Regions from separate parts of the Homo sapiens genome. Here all the other regions are linked to region 3. The links are contacts of gene promoters, found by promoter capture Hi-C in human tissues and cell types (Jung and others, 2019). All regions are on one chromosome and are shown on one strand. The core of a region is centred on a gene start or on the middle of the fragment in contact, and the rest is flanking DNA. Distances in the headings are between cores, read along the strand shown. Region 1 has its middle 70 kb from the start of STRIT1. Region 2 overlaps PLCH1 (phospholipase C eta 1). Region 3 holds the start of GMPS (guanine monophosphate synthase). Region 4 has its middle 60 kb from the start of PLCH1-AS1.

The links. Contacts are between HindIII fragments. The study calls those that stand out against the background at their distance.
Region 1: a fragment that was not itself captured here is called in contact with the fragment with the promoter of GMPS in region 3 in 1 of the 25 tissues and cell types used here (mesendoderm cells).
Region 2: a fragment that was not itself captured here is called in contact with the fragment with the promoter of GMPS in region 3 in 1 of the 25 tissues and cell types used here (mesenchymal stem cells).
Region 4: a contact is called between a fragment that was not itself captured here and the fragment with the promoter of GMPS in region 3, in 1 of the 25 tissues and cell types used here (mesendoderm cells).

Annotation. Positions count from the first base shown.
Region 1 is chr3:155,361,824-155,365,532 of GRCh38, reverse strand. No RefSeq gene overlaps it. Among named protein-coding and RNA genes, the nearest start is that of STRIT1, 70 kb to the right of the region's middle. RefSeq lists enhancers at 1,377-2,054, 2,055-2,733. The HindIII fragment of the contact is 4,184 bases long and covers 1-3,343 here.
Region 2 is chr3:155,549,542-155,552,911 of GRCh38, reverse strand. PLCH1 (phospholipase C eta 1) reads left to right here. Exons shown (of 23, transcript NM_014996.4): 10 at 2,954-3,125. Among named protein-coding and RNA genes, the nearest start is that of PLCH1-AS2, 65 kb to the right of the region's middle. The HindIII fragment of the contact is 4,599 bases long and covers 1-3,370 here.
Region 3 is chr3:155,868,938-155,872,431 of GRCh38, reverse strand. GMPS (guanine monophosphate synthase) reads right to left here and starts at 1,782. Exons shown (of 16, transcript NM_003875.3): 1 at 1,535-1,782. The coding sequence starts at 1,561. RefSeq lists enhancers at 989-1,748, 2,288-2,337 and a silencer at 928-2,147. The HindIII fragment of the contact is 29,940 bases long and covers 1-3,494 here.
Region 4 is chr3:155,387,364-155,390,958 of GRCh38, reverse strand. No RefSeq gene overlaps it. Among named protein-coding and RNA genes, the nearest start is that of PLCH1-AS1, 60 kb to the left of the region's middle. The HindIII fragment of the contact is 3,607 bases long and covers 447-3,595 here.

The DNA.
Region 1 (3,709 bases), core at 2-2,501, 510 kb after region 3:
AATCCAAAGGCTCAAACCCAAAGATATATGCTTACAGCAAGATGTGTGCGACACTTCAGAGGGGCCCACCAGCCAGCCCTCACAGCTTTAGCTTACAGACAAATCAAGCAAGTACCAAAAACATTATAGAAGTAGCAGTTTTATGACCTTAAAACATGTGACACAAACAGCATAAACCTATCTGACCAATAGACTCAGGCAAAAATGTCTGAATTATATTTAATACTGACAATTCTGAATACACTATTTTATTTTACCAAAAATTTTAAAACTAGCTTTATTTACCAGATAATATCTCAGATCACATAGAAATATTACATACACATAAGATACATAGACAGACATATGGACACATAGACAGAAGCAGATCTTATATCTTTCATTAGCCAGTTTCCAAATAGTTTCTTTCCCCCATTCATACCATCAACCTTCTGATTACCTGTTTCATTGCCCTAAGCAATTGTTAGCTAGGCAGTCCTAAATCTGTACTGACTCTTAGGTGAAATAAGGTGGAACATTTATATCTCAAAGATACAGAACTTAGATCTAAACATTATTTGCCAAGACAGAGAATGACATAGGTAAGGCTCAGTTAAGTTAAGGCAAGACAGCCAGAAAAACTACTTTAGACAAAGGTAAGATTTGTTATGTAAACTTTTAAGTCAATGCCTTTCCCATTGTAAAAGTTTCTAGTGGTTTAGTTGCAGAGAGAGGGAGAGAGAGAGACCCTTACAAATTGAGATTCTCTTTATAAATAAACATTTCTTTTACCAAGAGTTTTAAAATAGCCAGCTGAAGGCCAGAAGGTTGTACTTTGGATATTTAGTTTGATAGGTGGCCTTTAAACTTAGTTTCCGTTTCTTAACTGGATTATTGCTCACGCCAGAGCCCATTAACAAACAGGGCCAGACCCACTCATGACTCTTTGGGTTCTGTGAGGAAGACAGAGGACCTAAAAAGGGGCCAGTGATACCTTAGCTCTCTTTCTCAAAGAGGTATGAGAGTTACTAGAAGTTTCTTTCAGATTCTTTTATGTGACAACCAAGACTCTCATATTTCCTCTTAGTAATTTTTCATCCATTGACCACCAGATGAAGAAAGTAGGGGCTTGAAGGGGCACATATCAATGATTAAGGGGAAATGAATGGAAGATCATAGCAAAAACAGGGGTAGGAGCAAGTGGAAGAATGAGTCCTAGAGGAGCCAGTGTGGGGAGATCTCAAACTTTCAAAAAAAGGCCAATTAAATTTTACATCTTTTTAAGCAAAAATCTTGCCAAAAAAGGAAACAAGCAGAAGGAACGCACGTACAATTAAAAAGAGGTTTCAGTTGGATCAAAAAAATCCCCATGGGAGAAATGGGATCCAAAGGAGAACAGAAATGTCTAAAAATATGTATAATCTGAGTATCAGCTTTGCTTAAGCTGACTTTTGCTCATAGAATTCAAAGAATCTTTTGAATCTCTCATTATCAGTTTTAGCCAGAACAAAGCCAATATTCCTGGCTTTTGAACTTTTTGTCTTTTCTTTTAAACCAAAGGTAATTTCCCAGTGACTGAGAACGAAAACCTTAACCAAGGATGCATGAGGCATCTCCAAAAACGTGTAAAAAAGCAGTCCTCACAAGACCCAGAATTACCCCCTGGGTCTAGCAGCTACTAGATGAAAAAAAAAGAGACTTAGAGACAAACAGGAAAACAATAGCCATCCATGGAAGGGAAAGGGAAAAGAATCAATAAGAAATGAGTACATCAGAAAGTCAAGAGTCACACAAATATAAATTCAAAATAAGTAATCCAAACTAATTCTTATTGCTGGGCGAGGTGTCAGAGCCCTGGCATTGGAAAGTGGTTGACTTGTGGGTTGGTAAGAATTTACTGACAACGGTATGGGTTTGAAAACAGAAATATTTTTTAGAAAGAAGGAACGCTGCAGAAGAGTGCAGCGGGGGGCCTCAGCAAGAGAGGACTGAGCACAGCATGGTGGCTTTTTCTTTAGAGGTGTTTAGAGACCTTAAAGCGGAAGCTGAAGGGTAATTTGCATGATAAACGATTACATTTGTAGACATCTTGGTGCCTTAATGTCGGTAAGGATTGCACAATGAGTTTGGCAGTTCGGCATGCATGCATTCTGGAGGTGTATAGACATTCTAGTTTCCTGTAAATTTTAAGTTGAAAAGAGGCCTGGAACCAGGTGCTGACTTTAGATAATAGGGAAGTCTAATTACTTCTAAATTCCTCAAATAAGGAATTTTTCTTTTTGTCTCTTAATGGCCTGCTTGATGGTCACTAGGTGATCTTTGCTCTCCTTACTTATAAATGTTTCTTTTTACCTCCTGGGTTAAAGGACTTACATCTCTAAGGGACTGGTTCTCCGTCTGGGAATCAAACCTGGGCAGTGGATGTGAAAGCATGGAATCCTCGCCACTAGAATACAGGCTGGATTGCCCTTTTTGCATATCCCACAGGGAATCCAAAGCAGGCAGTGTGTGTATACACAGGGTTTTAACTTTGTTTTAAATCTGATTTCTGCCATTTTGGAATCTTGCCAATAGAATTTTAAAGGCTATATTTCTTTTGTATTTTTTCATAGATACCAATAAGATGGCTATTTAAGATAAGAGCTCTCTAAAAAGTTTTCTTTTAAATATAGTCCTTTTGTTTATTTCATAAGCGACTCAAGCCAACAGACATTTTTAATGGAAGGAACACCATGGACATAAGTGGCGTTTTAAAAATGGGTGCAGAAGATGCAGCATCATATGAAACCCTCAAAAATTTACTCCCAGAAATAAGTTAAATAACAAAAGACTCTCCTTCCACAGATGGTTAAGGATGATGTCTGTGCATATGTATGGTGCCTCTAGTATCCCACAAATTTGTGGGGGCTTGCCAGTCACAGGCTTGTTAATTTGTGACACTGGGTATACCCCCCTGGGATTGGACTTTCCCAGGCCTAATCAGGCAACAAGGATTGAGACAACAAAAGCCCCTCATGGGTGGGAATTCTTTCTTTTCTGAGACAGAGTCTCCCTCTGTCACCCAGGCTGGAGTGCAGTGGTGCAATCTCAGCTCACTGCAACCTCTGCCTCCTGGGTTCAAGCGATTCTCCTGCCTCTGCCTCCCAAGTAGCTGGGATTACAGGTGCATGCCACCACACCTGTCTAATTTTTGCATTTTTCATAGAGACAGGGTTTTGCCATGTTGGCCAGGCTGGTCTTGAACTCCTGATCTCAGGTGATCCACCCACCTAAGCCTCCCAAAGTGCTCGGATTACAGGCATGAGCCACTGCACCCAGCCTATGGATGGGAATTCTTATTAATACAAACTCCCCTGAGAGCTTGGCACATTCTGAACAAAGAGTGTGCTGCTTAATATCTTATGTGTCTAGAGATTCCCAGTCCTTTTGATATGGGGGGGTGCGGGCAGGGAAGTACTGGGTAGAGAAGTCTGGGTCCCTGGCCAGGGCTTCACCTCCAGCCTATGACCATGGGCCTAGATGAGGACAGGCATTTCTGTTTTCGTGCCCAAAAGTTGCATTTCCCAAGACCATCCTGGCCCACCATGTCCCCATCCTGTGCCTATAAAACCCCCAAGACCCTAACAGACATGCACACAAGCAGGTGGACGTCAAGAGGAACACACCAGTGGAAGAAGACACAAGTGGCTGGATATTGAGAGGAACGCACTGGTGAAAGAACACACCAACA
Region 2 (3,370 bases), core at 82-2,581, 320 kb after region 3:
GGAGTCATTCTAGACTCAACCAATTCTTGGCAATTCTACTTCCCAAGTTATCTTTTGACTCCATTGCCTCCTGTTCATTTTTATTTCCCCTTTGGTTCATCCTCAACACTGGTGCTATAATTTTCTTTCTGAAATATGAGCATGGTGATTCAATTCTTGTCTTAAAGCCTGTCAGAAGCTCTCTCAATACACAGGCATGTCTTCATATCCCTTAAGGTCTGGCATCTCCCTTGTCTTCCACTATCATCTTCCACCATTATTCCACAGAGATTTAGGATTCTGCCTTCAATGACTGTCTTTCAGCTTCCCTATTGAGCCTGGCTCTTTCTCAACTCCCCACTCTTACGTATGCTGTTCTCTCTGCCTGGAACAACCTTCCCCGTTAGTCTATCTGATTAATTGTTGCTTATTCTACAAGGCCGTTTAAGTATTGTCCCTCCAACAAGTTACTAATACCACCAGCTGATTTAAATCTTCTTTTTCTCCATATTTTCTCTGTATTTAGCACCCTGCACATATTTCTGTCATATCATATAGCACCCTCTTGCAATTGGTTGGTTACTTGCCTTCTTTTACATCTGTAAGACTGTGAACTCACTGAAAATATGAGCAATCTCTTATTATTTTGTATTCATTTTTGTTGCCTAGCAGGTACCTTCAGTATACCAGCTATTCAAGAAAGGATTTTTGAATTAAAGGAAACAAATTAAAATTACAATTGTGTAAAATTAATTTTTTAGAAGTTAGTAGCCTTTAAAATTTCCAATATTTGGTCTTCTCATTAATTAAACATGAGGTTAAAAATGCTTTTCTAATAAGACACACTTGCTGTATAGCAGATTTAGTTTATGATGCCTCCCACGTGGAAGAATCTTGAACACTGCATTCTAATGGGTCTTTACAACCCTGATTTCTACAGGTCCTAGCCAAATGGGTGAAGTAATTTTGCCTTTATTTCCCAATGTATGAAGTAGGGTGTTGAGAAGGCCTGCCACCTATGTATCTTGGAAGATCCTCTGGTGATTTGACAATTTACTTCAAGTTTGGGAACTCTTAGAAGAAAAGCACTTCAAATTAAAAGAGTTAATAAACTTGTTTAGTACATTTTAAAAGTTCAGCCTTTTCCTCTCCTTTCTTAACTTTGGTTGCATCTTTATATCAGGGTTTCTCAACCTTGGCACTAATGACATTGTGTACTGATAATTTTTTTTTTTTTTTTTTTTTTTTGGTAGAGAGCTGTCCTGTGCAGCGTAGGGTGGAAAGCAACATCCTCAGCTTCTATTCATTATGTGCCAATAGCACCCCTGAAGTGTGACCACCAAAAATGTCTTCAGATATTGACAAGCGTCTCCTGTACTGGGGGGAATAATTGCCTCGTTCCCTGTTGAGAAGCACAGCTTTACACTAAACATCATCAAGCACTAATTAGGCTTTTTTTTTTTTTTTTTTTTTTTTTTTTTTTTTTTTCTGAGGCAGCCTTGCTCTGTCGCCCATGCTGGAGTGCAGTGGCATGATCTCAGCTCACTGCAACCTCCGCCTCCTGGGTTCAAGCGATTCTCTTGCCTCAGCCTCCTGAGTATCTGGGATTACCGGCACGTGCCACAATGCCTGGCTAATTTTTGTATTTTTAGTAGAGACAGTGTTTCACTATATTGCCCAGGCTGGTCTCGAACTCCTGGCCTCAAGTGATCTGCCTGCTTCGGCCTCCCAAAGTGCTGGGATTACAGGCATGAGCCACCACTCCCTGCCACTAATAGATTTTTTGTAAATGAATTGACAATGTGAAAATTCCTTGTTAAAACTCCCTGATGTGACTGCAGGACAACTCAGGGTTGTCAGTTTGTTGTTGCTGTTGCTTTTCCCTCTTCTAGCACTTTAGGGTAAAACCTATGTGAAGAAATGAATAGCAAACAGATTGTAGTCGAGTAAGGAAACCTACCTCAGCCACAAAGGCTCATCTGTAAGATGGCCCACAGCATCAGGTTTTACTAATGAGGAGAGAAGGTAGGTCTGGCGGTCATAGCCCGTATTGTGGAACTTGTGCTTGTCATGAAAGCCTGGAAAAAGTTTTTCTGCACATTGATATATTAGGTGATTTAAATATTGGTATATGTTGATATATTAGGTGATTTAAATATATTGCCTATTATGTCTGAAGACATGTAACGGAAAACTAGAAAAAAGTCAATGAACCTGAATTTGAAATAATTTCTTATTCTGAGGAAAAAATAAGGTTGAGAGAGGAGTAAAATCATGTAATCAGCCCTGATCTCCTTTCTGCCTTAGCCACCAACTCCTTTAGGTAATTATTTACATGGATCTCATGTTTTCTGTGCAGAAACCTGAGTGCTGGTGTAGAATGAATGCTTGGCTGGTTTTTATTTTTATTTTTTGACAAAGACTAGTATATAATTCTATCAAAGTGATTTTGAAATGTGCGACGTAGGATGCTATAAAACACAGAATTCCCTTATGTTATTTTATCCTCAATCATAATTTTCAAGGTGGGGGTTAATTATATATTTTAGAGTCAATAGCTTCATTTAATGACATTCAGTGGTCTCTTAGAAGCTGTTAGACTTTTGAATAAATAAGACAAAATTACATTATATGAGTTTACTTTCTTTAGACTTCTCATCTCTTTTAAAATTTTCTCTTCTTTTAAAAGAAACATAATATATCTACCATTGTTTCCTGATGCAAAATATTAGAAAAGCCATCCCATGTGGATTGGTATTTTGTTCATCCATTATGCTTAGCAAAGTATATTTGCTCAGAGGAATTTTTTAAATGCATTTCTAATCTTTCTCATTTTAGAAGCATTTTAACCATCATCAGTATCGCAAATACTGTCACTAGGATTGTAACAACACAGTGAATACTGAATCATTTTCAAAAGTCCCTGTGAGTTGCCTGCACCTGACGCCTCTGGACTGTGTTGCTCTTTTCTCAGGTTTCCTGTTATATTGTCTATCGAGAATCACTGCAGTATCCAGCAGCAAAGGAAGATTGCTCAGTACCTGAAAGGAATATTCGGAGACAAACTGGACCTGTCATCTGTTGATACAGGGGAGTGCAAGCAGCTTCCAAGCCCTCAAAGTTTGAAAGGCAAAATTCTAGTGAAGGTAATTACTTCAAGTAATGCAATAAAAGACATTCATTATCAGCTAAGCCTGCCCTCCCTTAAAGAATAAAAATGGGTTTCAAGGGAGAATAATAATTAGAATCAATATATGAAGGATTGTCTAGATCTATGTATGCGCCTTATTCCAATTTTTTTATAGTCGTGTCTTCAGAAGAAGCTTATTGTTGAGTGAGCACATATTCTGAGATTTGTACTTATGAAGTGGAAACATCAATACTGTAAGCC
Region 3 (3,494 bases), core at 533-3,032:
GGCAGAAAAATGCTTTGCAAGTCGACTAGTAATCGGGAAAGAGCTGGACAATGGGGTTTACATTTGCTCCTTAGGTCAGAAACTAAAGGTTTGTGTGTCTTAACAGCTCCCTGGACCTAAGCACCACTGGTGCCTTGGTTTAAAAGAGTTAAAATCAGCTACCTTATAATCTTTTACTCATTGTTCGACAAATACTTTTTGAATGATTACCGGGTGCTAAGCAACCATTCAAGAGGACCTCCTAAGATGTGACCCTTGAGCAGCACCTTTTAAAAAGAATGTTAAAATTCTGCCTGAACAAGGCACTACTATCTGACGTAGAGCACCAAATCCACCTCGAAGTATACAATCCCACCCCCCGAATGAAATTTAATTAAGTTTTTTCCTAAAGCTAGGCCCTCAACAGCGTACAGAGGAGGTGTATCTTAATGAAGTAAATCGCAATTCAAAACTGCACGGTTTCCCGCTGGCAAAACTGACTTAGTGAAGGTCAGAAAGAACTCCAGGCCAATGAAAATTTTAATACAGAGGTGAAAGCGAAGGTGCCCAATTCAAAAGCGGGACGAAAGTAAGAGGAACGGTCTAAGAAAAGTGAGTTGGAGGAGAGATGAGCAGCAGCGGTCAAACGTGCTCTCCCCGCCGGGTACGTCAAGGCGGCAACTTTTCCAGCACTCCGGAACTCCGGACTGCCCAGGCCTCGGGCGAGCTGGCACGGCTCGCGTCCCGGGGAGGGACCCCAAAGGCGGGGAAGCGGGTTACCCCGCAAACCAGCAAGCTCGACAGGGAGCAAGCTGGACGGGGGCGGGACCTGGACACACACCCTTTCCTCTCTGAGAAGGAAGCGGGGAGGGAGAACGGAGTGCGCGACCCTGGGGCCACCAGCCCTCACGCGGGCCTGCAGGGGCGTTGGGGGAGGGGGAAGACAGTGCAGCTCCGAGGGGTTCGTCCAGAACCGGCCTAACCGCCGCGGAGCCCAAGGCTGGCGGGGGGAATGGAGCGGGCCTCGCCGAGGGCAGGCGGGAAACGGGGTGGCGGGAAGACCAGAGGCCGGCCCAGCTCCAACGCCGCACAGGAGGCCCCGACCCTGCCCTGCCTTCGGCGGGCCCCGGGATCGCCACAACGGGCCCCCAGCCTCCCAGAGGGACGGGGTGGGAGCCGAGGAAGCCCCCACCCCGACACGCAGACACACAAGCCCGCTCGCCGCCCTACCCCCACCCTCGCGCCGCGCTCGCGGGCTCTGCGCCCCACAGCGGCGCGGGGGAGGCGGGGGCCAGCGACGCGGCCGCGGGGAGCTGATGCCCTCCCCGACGCCCGGACCTCGACACGCAGACAAGATCAACAAAGCATCGCCGCTCCCGAGATAAAACATGCCACAGGCCCCGACCAGGGACTCTACGACGCGTGGCTGCCCGGGGCGCAGGGCTGCGCGGACGGGCTGGGGGAAGGGGGTGGGGAAGGGCCTCGCGGGGTGGCTCCCCGGTCCGGGAGCCTCGCCTCCGCCGGGATGCGGTGCTGCAGGGACCCCCACGCTGACCTTGGAGTCTCCGTTGCACAGAGCCATCGGGGCCAGGGCCGGAGCCGCGGCGGTGACGGCGACAGTACGAGACGGGGCGGGAGGGTGCCGGAAGGGTCGGCGCCGCGGGCTGAGGTTGAGAAGGAGGCCTGGTCGAGGAGCAGCCGGCAGCGGAGAGGAGCCAGCCGCCAGAAAAGCGCCGAATGGAGCAACAGCAGCGGAGCGCGGGCCCCAGCGCCGCGGGAGAGAAGACCAGCAGCGCGCACGCTGCCCCCGCCTCCTGCTTCCGCCCCGGCCGGCCACTGGGAGGAGCCAGAGCCCGTTCGGCTTGGCAGCCGAGCCTCAGATACCCTCCGCAGCCGCCGCCAAACCGGCCGGCCCTCGAGAGGAGGGGCTCGCGGCGCCCGGCCCCGCCCCCAGCCCGGTCCCCGCCGGCAAAGCCGGCCGGGTCTCCCGCGGCCCGCCCTTGGGAGGAGGAGCCCGCGGCATCCACCGGCTCCGCCCCTCCTGCCCTCGCACCGAGGAGCCCGCCCCGGAGGAGGGGCCTGTGGCGCCGGCCAGGAGAAAAACCGAAGCCGAATCCGAGCTAGTTTGCTGCTGCCGGATTTGCCTGCTACCTTGGATGACTTCGGGAGGCTGGCGGCACCGAAGAGGCCTCCTGAGAGCTGGGCCCCTGGCGGAACTCTTAGCCGGTGGCGTGGCCTTATCTCAGGTTGCTGGACATGAAGGAGGCCAAGGCTGCTTTGGAAAGTTCCGTGGCCATATCTCAAGGATGTCATTGTAGGAACTGATCACTTAGATACTTCAAAAGTTATACAGCTCCCCACAAATACAGCAGGTGCAGTATTTCCAAAGAAAAGGGAGTTTGGGAGTGGTAATCTGGTGAGCAGCTGGCCCAGGGAACTGGTCGTGAAGCTCTGTTTGCACAACAGTGTTTTTATTGGAATTGTTTGTGGGGAAGGGGCTGCAGTCCCTCCACCTACCCCTTGGCAACCATCATGATGATGAGGTGTTACTTTGAATTTGGTTACCTAGAGGCCTAAATCGAGATTGGGGTATAAAGAATAATACTTGAGATGGCTTCCAGCTAACAAAGCCTTTCCACAAATATTTTTATTATAATACAGCCAACATTTTGCTGCAGTCATTCTTGTGTCAGACTGTAGCTAGGGTATTAAGGAGCCAGAGTGAGAAAATACTTTAAAAGCTAACTTTAACCAATCCCGTGAAAGTAGTAAGGTAGGATTGATGTTCTTATCCTTTTTACAAATGAGGAAATTGAGGCTTAGTGAGATAATGTGCCTCTCAGTATATATAGAATGTAAGGCCTGCCCAATCTGGGAAAGTGTAGACAGTTTATTAGTGAAATATTTACAAAAACGAAAGGCTTAAGGTCCTAGTGGGCCTGAGACTTAAGTATTTCGCTTACCTTTTTTTGAACGGAAAATTGAATATTTGAACTCTCCAAAGCCATGGATACTGGCTTCTCTGGGTAGGTCTGTATGCACAATCTAAAGAAGAGTGCAGTAACCAATAGGAGAACCTCAACTTACATAAACATCCACCCCTAATGGAGTGGAATGTGATGTGATATACTGGCATTAAGGATTGGCTAAGTCCCATCTATCTTAAACAATGCTTAGTTTAAATATATTCTAGGCTGGGCGTGGTGGCTCACACCTGTAATCCCAGCACTTTGGGAGGCCTAGGCGGGTGGATTACCTGAGGTCAGAGTTCCAGAACAGGCTGGCCAACATCATGAAACCTGTCTCTACTAAAAATACAAAAATTAGCCAGGCGTGGTGGCATGCGCCTATAATCCCAGCTACTCGGGAGGCTGAGGCAGGAGAATCGCTTGAACCCGGGAGGTGGAGGTTGCAGGGAGCCAAGATCATGCCATTGCACACCAGCCTGGGTGACAACAGCGAAACTCCATCTCAAAATAAACAAATAAATAAATAAATTCTAGTGGTCACCTGTG
Region 4 (3,595 bases), core at 1,001-3,500, 480 kb after region 3:
TGGGACTACAGGCATGCACCACCATGCCCGGCTAATTTTTGTATTTTTAGTAGAAACAGAATTTCACCATGTTGGCCAGGCTGATCTTGAACTCCTGACCTCAAGTGATCTGTCGCCTCAGCCTCCCAAAGTGCTGGGATTACAGGAGTGGGCCACTGCGCCTGGCCAATTTCCTGAAGAGTTTTTTTTTACCATAATGGGTATGGCTGAATAAAGCAAACAAGCTAGATACATTTTTTTTCCTATTTACTTAATTTGAACATGCTTAAAATTCTAGAGCATATAAACAAATGAAATACCTTTCAAATTGTTTTCAGATTTGAATTAGCAAACAAAGTTCTATTCATATTTTTAAAGGAAGGTTAAAATTCAGCAACAGTGGAGGCTCTTAAACATTATGTCAGGATTCCTGCTGGAAAGTTATCAAGTGAAAAAAATCATTTCAGTGTTTGATTGCACATCAAGTGCTAAAGATCAATTTTCCCTTTGGAAATGCTGAAGCTGTTCTCATTGCATTTCCTTTCCTATACTTAGAACATTTGCATGAAATATTATTTCAGCTGTTATATATAAAGTTAGCTGCATAAGCACATGTGTGATGCTTTGGAGATGCAAGGAAACAGCAATTATTAGTCCAGTCTCCTACCAAATAAAGTATCATGGGACTTTTCCAAAATTAGGGATGTCCCTGACACCAGTGTTAGAAGTTATTGATATTTTTTCCTTGCAATGAGATGGACATTTTAGGACTCTAAGTCCAAAAATTGTGTTGTCCTTTTCTTCACTATCAAAAACAATCCTAAGAAATATTCTTATATTATCTACTTTCCTTCCAGCTTTCTGCCAAAAGTAAGGTTTTAAGAAGATCTGAATAGTCTTGCAACCCAAGGTGGCAGAACTTGCTTAGTGATGGGATGTAGTAGAAAGGTTTTGCTTGTAGTCCTCAAATCTTTGGCAGAAATGAAGTGGCTGTTCCTGCAGGGAACAGTAGTTGCAGAGAGGTAGGCTGATTATTTTTTACATCTCCCTTCAGAGCAGAAGTTTCAAGTCTATTGTATCCATTAATAGTAACCCTCTCAGCTCATTCAGGTCAATAGGAGATGAGATTATTTCTCTTCTCTAGAAGAACTATAGAGAGGAAGTCAGCAGAGTCTTCTAAGAAAGAGCTTTGAGAAAGATATTTGGCAGGTATTACATTTTCTCCTCCCTCAATATATTTATCTTCTGGAAAAAAAAGGCACATAGACATTCTTGTAACTTATGAATAATGGTTATAGTCTATTAAATTTCATTTGTTCCCTGAAGAAGAGAAAAATAATCATGCGATCATGTCAGATTGTCCTAGATTTCCAAGGGTTTCTTCTAATATTCTATCCCTTGATTTTATCAACTGATAACTAAAAAAAATTTGATGCATAAAACATTCTCTTATTTGATTTGTTAAGGCTAAATAAAGACAGATAGTGATTGTCCACCTCGATGGCAATAAAAGAATAATGACAATATCCCCAAGTCCAATAAATGCAGAATTTCTAGGCAAGAATATTTTCACCCCAGCAGTCTGAAGATTACCATTTATCAATCTCAGATTAGCTACAAGTTTGTTCAATATATTTGACTTGTTGCTGCATTCACTTAATTTTCAACTTTAGGGTTCTTTACCTTGTATTATCTTTTCTTATCACAATGAACGCGATATTTCTAATTGAATCTTACCTAAATTGAGAGTCTAAAAACTGAGTTTCTCCTTGAACACTTTCATTGACAAACAACTCACCCCATCTTCTCATGAAGTTCAGATTTTTGGAAAGCTTTTCCTAACATTGAACTAAAACCTTTACTCCCATATTCTTCTATCTTTGGCACATGAAACAATTCCAGCCCTTCTTCCACTTGACATCATCTATCATGAGCCTCATGAGTTTTCTATTCTGCAGGCTGTACATCCCTAACTCCCCGGAGGTTGCCTGCTTAGGACATGGTTTGCATATGTTCATCCTCGTGTCTGTCTTCTGAATTTACTCCATGTTCTTCTGCAAAGTCTATCTTCCATCTTGAAGCTCTTGTTGGATTAAGCTTCTCAGTTGAACCACACAAATCATGATATCCTGTCCATTCCCTTTAAAGTACCTGACCTTTGGCTTTGGTAATAATATCTGAATGAATTTCTTTTATTTGCTAGTATGATTGAGGCCTTAGTTAGGCTTTTTTAGGTTTCAAGAAGCAAAGACAAACTGAAGTTTAGGAAGTAGGAGTTTGCAGCAAGGCAACATGGGGGTAAGGGAAGCTTAGACCACCAAGCCACAGCAGCAGCTCTGGGGCACCACGGGAATTCAGGCAGGTGTCTCAGAAGCAGGCGTCTGAGTCCCCTTTCTCTGCTCCCTGCTCACCATGGAGGCTCAGAGAGTTTCTGACTGCTGCTGCTCTGGTCTTCTGGTAGCTCAATATTCTCCTTCTCTCCTACTCCTGGCTTCTATTCTTGCTCCCTCTCTGTGTACTTTTTCAGGCTTAGATCAAGACATTTAGACCAGAGTATCTATAGGCTACTCTCTCCTCCCTCTCTCGAATTTCAAAATAAATGCCGATAAAGTTTCAGTTAAGCAAGATGAGTAAGCTCTAGAGATCTGGTGTACCACATTGTACCTAAAGTAAATGACAATGTATCGTACACTTAAACATTAATTAAGAAAGTAGATCTCATGTCATTTTCTTACCATAATAAAATAACATTTAAAAATATGCAGCAGAGATTAAACAGATATTAAGAAAAAATATATGTCTAGAAAAAGTTTTAATTTTTTCCCTGTGATGATTATTTTAATGCTTTTCAAAATAAAACAAGTATTAATTCTTTACAAAATAATTTTTTGGTACTCTGGTGATTTGATATGAACTTTTTCTGCCTGTTGGTAAAGAGGATGTTTTTATTTCCTCTAACAATTGCTATTTTTTTTTTTTTAATGCTGGACTCTCAAATCATCTAAGCAATGAGATCTGATCAGCTCAATTAGGTCACAATTGTGCCTGTTTGGCGGCTCTACTTGAGGCAAGCCTCTTCCTAGGCTATTTTTCAGGCAGGCATGCCTCCCTGGTCCAAGCAGCTGTAGCAGGGTGGTGTGGTACCAAATAGTTAACCAGGTGAGTGTGGCTGGAATCCCAGAGCAGGAAGTGGGTCTGGCAGACAGCTTGTGTGGCCTTCAGTACATACGTCTGCACAAACCACTGAAGGACTTGCTCACTGTCTCATGCCACACCACAATTCATCCTTTCACTTTGGAATATGATGTACTTAGTGAAGTCCAAATTGACTTTCCAGCGGGATGTGTGGCCCTGACCAGACCACTGTAGGGTCTGCAGTTTGGCAAGGCAGTGGGAGAAGTTACCTGGCTCTCTCCCTACAGGAGACCTACACCCTCCTCATGGCTAAATTGAAAGAGTGTCAGGGAGGGTACGAGCTGGGGACCTTTGGACGGTACAGTGATTTTTATGACTTTATTTGATTAAGAATTTCAATGACATTGGTTTAGATGCATCCATCTATTTTTTGCTCCCTTCTTGTTCTTGTTTTTTCAAGGAGATGAGATTTGTGTGTAAC